Regions from separate parts of the Homo sapiens genome. Here region 1 is linked to region 2. Evidence: promoter capture Hi-C in 16 types of primary human blood cells and fetal thymus (Javierre and others, 2016). All regions are on one chromosome and are shown on one strand. The core of a region is centred on a gene start or on the middle of the fragment in contact, and the rest is flanking DNA. Distances in the headings are between cores, read along the strand shown.

What was found. Contacts are between HindIII fragments. The CHiCAGO score rates a contact against its expected background, and 5 or more counts as called.
Region 1: a fragment that was not itself captured here is called in contact with the fragment with the promoter of IL37 in region 2 in 5 of 17 cell types (M2 macrophages, M0 macrophages, M1 macrophages and 2 more); the score reaches 9.6 in M2 macrophages.

The regions. Positions count from the first base shown.
Region 1 is chr2:112,593,199-112,597,254 of GRCh38, forward strand. No RefSeq gene overlaps it. Among named protein-coding and RNA genes, the nearest start is that of CHCHD5, 11 kb to the left of the region's middle. The HindIII fragment of the contact is 7,050 bases long and covers 1-4,056 here.
Region 2 is chr2:112,909,218-112,913,340 of GRCh38, forward strand. IL37 (interleukin 37) reads left to right here and starts at 1,948. Exons shown (of 6, transcript NM_014439.4): 1 at 1,948-2,031; 2 at 3,746-3,877. The coding sequence starts at 3,796. The HindIII fragment of the contact is 4,653 bases long and covers 1-4,048 here.

The DNA.
Region 1 (4,056 bases), core at 943-3,442, 320 kb before region 2:
AACCTCTGCCTCCCGGGTTCATGCCGTTCTCCTGCCTCAGCCTCCCGAGTAGCTGGGATTACAGGCGCCCGCCACCACGCCCGGCTAATTTTTTGTATTTTTAGTAGAGACGGGGTTTCACCATGTTAGCCAGGATGGTCTCGATCTCCTGACCTCATGATCCACCCGCCTCAGCCTCTCAAAATGCTGGGATTACAGGCGTGAGCCACCGTGTCCGGCTTTCTTTTCTAATACACTTAAATTTGCCACAAAGCGTGACTTTGTTTTTTTTTTTTTCAAGATATATAATTTGACTTGTCCCATAACTGTGAAGAAATAACAAATCATTCTTCAAAATAGAAGATAAAATAACTATAATAACAACAAAAACCCATGAATGCATTGTTGTAACTTAGCCAATAGTCACGTTTCCTTCTTGCCATCTCTGCCTATAGTAGTCCTGCTCCTTGGATGTCTTTGTCTTTCAATCCTCCTTTTGTTCCTTATTTTCCCTTCTCTACTCTCTTTTGATTTCTCCATTGACCTCAGATTGTTTAGAAGTTTAGAGTCGTATTTCTTAATTTCTAAACATAAGGAGGTTTTTTTTTTTTAGGTATCTTGCTTAATTGCAATTGGGTTGGGAACATTTTATATGATTTTAATCTTTTGAAATGTGTCGAGCCTTTATGGCTTGGCATATGCTCAGCTTTTGTTAATGTGCCATATGTGCTTGAATCATAATCCTTGGTTCATGATGCACCGTCTTAGCTCAGGTTCCCCCAGAAACAGACCCTGGGACAGAGAATTAGAGGTTGATCCCAGTAAGCATTACTAGGGCAGTGGGAAGTGAGACAGGGACAGTCGTCTTGAGTACAATTTTCTATACTGTTTTAACAACTGTCAGAATAATTTTTTAATGGCCCTCCACATTTCTACTCTTCTTTCATCTTTACATGGACTCTGCAGGTTTCCTCCTAGCTCTCTGGCTATGCCACCACCTTCTCCCACCCAGCCGTGACATAATGATTTTCTTCAAGGCTTACACCAGGCCTCTTCTTATTCTCTCCTCTGTGCAGTGATCTCCTTCCTAGAGAATATCAGATAAGTCATTGGTTCACAGATGGTTATCTCCAGCCCTGGCTTCTGCCTTGGGCTTCCACCTGCTGCCATGGACCTTCATATAGATGTCTCAAAGGGAGCACTAAGTCCCAATGTGTCCGGAATTGCAGCAGGCATTATTTTCCCCAGCTTGTCATTCTCACCACCATTTCTTTGCACTCTGCCCCTGCAGAAGGTTTGGTATTGTTATTGTTGTTGCTGTTCTTTTTCTTAGAAGGCCTCACTCCATCTTAAGCCTGGATTTACAATTCCCCTTTTCATTTTTTTTTAATTTTTGTTTTATAGTTTGGGTATACAGTTCCCCTTTTGTTCATTTTATTTATTTGTTTGTTTATTTATTTATGAGATGGGGTCTCACTCTGTTGACCAGGCTGGAGTGCAGTGATGTGATCTCGGCTCACTGCCACCTCCACCTCCTGGGCTCAGATGATCCTCCCACCTCAGCCTCCTGAGTAGATGAGACTACAGGCACGCATGCCCAGCTAATTTTTGTCTTTTTAGTAGAGATGGGGTTTCACCATATTGTCCAGGCTGTTCTCTAACTCCTGAGCTCAAGAAATCTGCCTGCCTTGGCCTCCCAAAGTGCTGGGATTACAGGAGTGAACCACCATGCCCAGCCCCTTTTGTTTATTTTAAAGCTGAAATGAGGACTCAGTTAATTTTGTTGTAGTCTTGTCTGGTGAGGGGCGATTCTTCACCCTTGCTGCCGTCCCTCACACTCTTCCTATTTTCTAAATATGCAGTCAGTCATTTAGATCACATCACCTGTATGAATAAAAGCCTTTCATGTCGGCTGCATTCTTCAGGCTTCTAACTTCTTGCAATTCATCAGTTACGTCTAGTTACATCTGTGGATTCCTGCACCATTGCAGATGCAAAGCAGGAGAAAAGAAGGGTTTTCTTTTCATCTTTTTTTTTTTTTTTTTCTGAGACAGAATCACTCTATGGCCCAGGCTGGAGTGCAATGGCATGGTCTTGGCTCACTGCGAGGACCGTCTCCCGGGTTCAAGCATTACTCCTGCCTCAACCTCCTGAGTAGCTGGGATTATAGACATGCACCGCCACACCCAGCTAATTTTTTTGTATTTTTAGTAGAGATGGGGTTTCAATATGTTGGCCAGGCTGGTCTAGAACTCCTAACCTCAAGTGATCTGCCCTCGTCTGCCTCCCAAAGTGCTGGGATTCCAGGCGTGAGCCACCACACCCTGCCTTCATTTTTGTTTTGAAGGAATTACCTCCTACCCCTTAAGTCCTGCAGTCCCTGAACTTGACCTTATCTGCAGCAAAGATGAGAAAGGGGGAAGGTATGATAAAAGGAGAAAACACTTGCCAATGTTTTCTAAATTAACCCCTGACATTAAAATTTAACATTTTCTGCACTTCCTGATCACAGTCCTGTCTTTTACTCAGTTGTGGGCGTGCACTTTTTTTTTTTTTTGAGGTGGAGTCTCATTCTGTTGCCCAGGCTGGAGTGCAGTGGCGCAATCTCAGCTCACTGCAACCTCCACCTCCCGAGTTCAAGCGATTCTCCTGCCTCAGCCTCCTGAGTAGCTAGGACCACAGGCACGCGCCACCACGCCCAGCTAATTTTTGTATTTTTAGTACAGATGGGGTTTCACCATGTTGGCCAGGATGGTCTCAATCTCCTGACCTCGTGATCCACCTGCCTCAGCCTCCCAAAATGTTGGGATTACAGGCGTGAGCCACCGCGCCCAGCCTGGGCATGCATATTTTATGGATCTTAACTCGACTTTTAAATTTTCTTTGAGCATCTGGGAATTTTATGAAAGCACTTTGTTAGTTTCTATTAGTGTCCCCTATATCCAAAATTCTCATTAAAGAATGCCGTTTCCCATCTCTCAAGAATTTATCAATTCAGGCTGGGCATGGTGGCTTACGTCTGCAATCCCAGCACTTTGGGAGGCCAAGGTAGGCTGATTGTTTAAGGTCAGGAGTTCAAGACCAGCTTGGCCAACATGGTGAAACCCCGTCTGTACTAAAAAAACAAAAATTAGCTGGGCATGGTGGCAGGTGCCTGTAATCCCGGCTATGCGGGAGGCTGAGGTAGCAGGATTGCTTGAGCCCAGGAGGCAGAGGTTGCAGTGAGCCGGGATCACGACGCCACTGCACTCCAGCGTGGGCGACAGAGTGAGAGTCTTTTTTTTTTTTTTGAGACTCACACTGTGCACAGGAAGAAAATTATGTGAATGTCCTTCCTAACAGGGAGAGGCCTTCCCTGACCTTGCTCCCCTTGGGCTGCCATCAGCATGGGGCTTTCTTAGGTATCAAGGCCACCTCAGTTTGGAGAGATGCCAGAAGTGGAAGTGTCAGCCAGACCATGTTTTCATTCTACTTGTCTATATTAGATCAAAGTCAGAGAGAGAATCTCAGTTCATAGAGGGAACACTTTATAACCTGTGTTTATGGAGGAGAATCACATACCAAGTGGAATCACCTTGAAGCAAGGCTTGTGTGCCGGGGGCGATGGCTCGTGCCTGTAATCCCAGCACTTTGGGAGGCTGAGGCAAATGGATCACTTGAGGTCAGGAGTTTGAGACCAGCCTGGCCAACATGGTGAAACCCTATCTCTACTAAAAAATACAAAAATTAGCTGGGCATGGTGGTACATGCGTATAATCCCAGCTACTCGGGAGGCTGAGGCAGGAGAATCGCTTGAACCCAGGAGGCAGAGGTTGCATTGAGCCAAGATCATGCCACTGTACTCCAGCCTGGGCTACAGAACGAGACTCCATCTCATAAATAAATAAATAAATAAATAAATAAATAAATAAATGGGATTTCGAGACCAGGCTGTCCAACATGATGACCATGTTTGTATTAACTTAGCTGGGCGTCGTGGCACATGCCTGTGATCCCAGCTACTTGGGAGGCCGAGGCAGGAGAATCACTTGAACCCGGGAGGCAGAGGTTGCAGTGAGCCGAGATCATGCCATTGTA
Region 2 (4,123 bases), core at 698-3,197:
AGTAATCAATGATATATGCAAAGATTTGGACAAGCATATTAAGCACAGAATTATGTATGCATATGTGTGTGTATATATATATATATCTCATACATATAATAATGTAAAAGTGAAAATAACTCAGATGTTCAAAATTGAGGATTAGTTAGACTATGATCTGTCCATATGTGACATACAAGTTAGCTGCCCCTTATTCTCTCGAGCTTCAACCTCCTATAAACAGTGTCCCTTGTATATCAGTATTGGTACAGATAATCGAACTTATTGAGGTTTTACATGGGGCAATAAAGGCAAGAGTTTATGAATACTCCATACTACACTAGGTAGCACCCCCTATTAAAGACAAACTCTTCTCTCTCATTTCCCTTCCTTTCCGGAACCACTTGGTTGAATCTCTACAAGTCTCTATTGCAACTGCCTCAACATGGCACCCTCCCTGCATCTCCATCTTCCCTGTCCTGAGAGCAATGGCCTGCTGCCCCCACACTCACATCCTCATTCATTCCAGAAGTGAGCACCACAGAAGTGCCTACAGTTACCCCAACCACCTTCTTAGAAGATAAGTTAGTGTTTGTTTTGACTTTTTAAAATTTTTACTTCCTCTTTTCCTTCACAATCTCATCCCATCCCAAGAGGTTTATCAAGAAGTTCTCTAAAGATATGTGTCTCCTTATGGAATTTAACAGAAATCAGGGATTTGTATTCTAGCCATCAAGGGAATAACATTTTTCCAGGTCTTTAGACAAATAATGGAATACCTTGCAGTAATTAGATACACTATTGTAGAAAAGTATTGATGAAATGGAACGATGTTTGAGATATCATATTGAGTAGAAAAGGCAAGATACATTAAGTAGGAAATGTATCTTACAAAATAATTTGTCAGACACACTCCTATATTTGTATGTTATATAAATGCGTATGTGAAGAAAGGCTAGAGGATGAGACCACAGTCTTCGGTGAAGTTTAAGAGATGAGGCTGCAGCATGCTCAGAAAGGCCTGGGTTATAGTTCTTCCAGTAATTAAGGATGTGATCTTGGGTAAATTGTCCATCCTCTCTAAACTGCACCACCTTTTGTCTGTAAAACAGGAAGGATGGTATTTACCCCCAGGGTCATCAAAGGATTTGGTTGGAGAAAAATAAATAAATGGGCTGAGCCCAGACCTGGCACAGTGAGAGCACAGTGGTTGACTATTGTGCTGGCCTGTTGTTCCTGTGTTATTGACATGCTGCTGGTGGTGGTCCAGAAGCTATTACCTTAATTGGTTATGTGGATTTCCCCTCATACTGAGCAGCTGTGTGTGGTGTTGTAAAACATAGCCATACACAGTAACTGACAAGGGCAAATGTGATGGAAAAATGCAAGGAAGTGCAGATAAATAGCTAATGGGCTGTAGAAGGAAGCTAGTCCTTGGAGGGCTTGATCAAGGAAGGTCCTTTTGCATGTCACCTTTGAAGAAGAGGGGACATAGAAGAGGTATAGTGCATCCCGGAGTGTACCTGGAAGGGAACATGAAAAGAGGACATTTTTCTCTGGGACATGGGGACTCCACTTGCATGAACTCTGGAATTGGGGCAAAGAACCATCATGAGAACAAGGGCTTCCTTGAACCTCCCAGGCTCATTGGCTGATCTAAACCCTGTGTCCCCTCTTTCCTTCACTCTCCTCTGTTTTCTATACCTGTATTATTGGACTGGACTGGAAGCCACCTGATCTATCACAAGTACCTTGAAATGTGTTGAATAGGTGTGGCACAGTCCTTAGCAGAGTGGCACTACCCCCACAGGAATTTGTTTATACCGTTGGCATGGAAAATAGCAGGAAATGAGTGATCACTGATAACTGAGGATGCTATTTATTATTGGCCAAAGGAATACTTGTGTTGTATTTGCATAACCACTCACAAACTGTTGATTACAAATGAGTACCAGACCTAGCTCCTTCAAGTAAAGGATCCTGAGAACTGAAGGCAAACAGAGCTCCAGGAGTCCAAGACAGAGCCACAGACCACGAGGATCCCTGGCCCAGGTAGGTGGTCCTCCTGCACTGGCTTTCAAGGCCAACAGGATGGATGGGGAAGTAGAGTAGCATCTGGCCATCTAGACCCTTGCTTTTTATCCCCACTGGAAGCACATCTGAATTTCTAAATATGATCTCTGAGACCTGCCCAGAACACCTTGCTCTCAGCCCCAGTAGCAGCCTGCTCTCTCCCAGGAGGGCTTCCACTAACAAGTAGGGCATTGCTGGAGGGCCAGGCAGACACTAGCTTAGGAAATCCACCAACCCTGGAAATGCTAGTCCCTTCTCTGAAGGCTCAGAAGACTGACTTTAGAGTCTAGAAAATATTGGTCCTTGGGAACAGATTTTGAGTGCAAAGAGATGGACTTCAGATGGCCAGATGCACTGCTTCTTTAGGGAATTCTGTGAAAGCTCCCTGCATTTATCTTAATACAGGCAGCAGATTTCATGAGTACCCCCGAGGGATGGCCCCAGGTCCTCCAGCCTGTGAGCATCCTTCTGTCCTTCAGCAGCACCACAGTATCTTTATATGTCTTTGGATACCTACGTTTCTGCCAGACATCTCTTGCTCTGATGTTCTGGCTGCCAAATTCTCTGTCAAGCGCCTCCAATTTTTTGTGTCCTTTGATTTACCCCAACATGACAAAGGCAGTTGTGCTTCATGTATTCAGGGATACTGCCAAACCACAAACAGGTTAAAATCAAATAGCAGATATCCCTGTTCCTAAAGACCCATCAGCTCTACCCACCTGCTCCTGCTCACCGTCCTTATTGTTGAGTCCTGAAGCCCTTCCTTGTCATTTTTATTTTTTGCATGAACAATTTAGTTCCCTTTGTCTCACTCCTAAACCTTTCTCAAAGGATTGGATTTGTACACAAACTGCCTATCTCTGCAATCTTAGAAGTGATATGATTCTGAACAAATCACTTAACTTTTGATTTTTTATCGGTAAGATGGGAATACCAATTTTTGCTCCACTTCTGTCCTATGTTGGCCTGGGCTGATGTTGAAAGCTCTCGGTCAACTGAGATAGGGTGTGCAGAATTTATATATATAAATATATCTCCTCCAACCCCTCCCAATGAAGCAAGTCACGTGAGTCAATCCTACCCTAAGATATTAGGGATTGAGCCTCCTGGGACATTTGGTGGCTTAGGTTTTCATGAAAAGAGGTTGCAGAGCAACTGCTTTTTGTTAGGCAAAGATTAGGCTACTGCAGAGACTCAGCAAACTTCTATAGAAGGTGTCAGATGGTAAGTATTTTAGGCTTTGCTTGCCAGATGATCTCTCAACTAGTTAACCATGCTATTGTAGCCTCGAAGCAGCCAGAGACAATATGTAAACAAGAGCATGGCTGTGTTTCAATAAAACTTTATTTAAAAAAACAGTCAGGGACCGGATTTGGCCAAAGGCCATAGTGTGCCAGCCCCAAGACTAGAGCAATGCACTTTTAACTTTTTTATTTTATTTTTGTAAAATGCCAAGATCCACAAAAATGCTATTGCACCCCGTGTGTTAGCACTGTGACTCAAGGTTTGGGAAATTCTGCTTTGAAGGCGTGATAGACAGGAGAGCATGGTCTGGCCCCTTGGTGCCTTTCTGGTTGCAGCGAGCATTTCAAACTACAGAGCAAGGCCAGTGGTCTGTTCAGCACTAGAGACATGCAGCAAGGTGTCCTGGGGTGAGAAGATGCCATAACTGGTCCCCTTTCTATCTCCTTAGGTCTTGGACTTCATTCCATTTTCTGTTGAGTAATAAACTCAACGTTGAAAATGTCCTTTGTGGGGGAGAACTCAGGAGTGAAAATGGGCTCTGAGGACTGGGAAAAAGATGAACCCCAGTGCTGCTTAGAAGGTAAGGTTCTTGTAGAAATCTACCTCAGGGCCAAAGTGTAATTCCTAGAGCAGAACTTTGCTAGGTGCTGTGCACAGACCCAGTTGTTTCCTGCTGACTTGCACAGTAAGTGAGCTTTCAAATTTCCCTGGACAAATAACTAGACAAGAGAAATTCTGGAAGGGAAAAGGAAGCTTTGCTTCAGTGTCCAGGCACATCAGGTAGTAGATAAAAGGATCGTCCTCACCTACAGATTTGGGGCTTTAG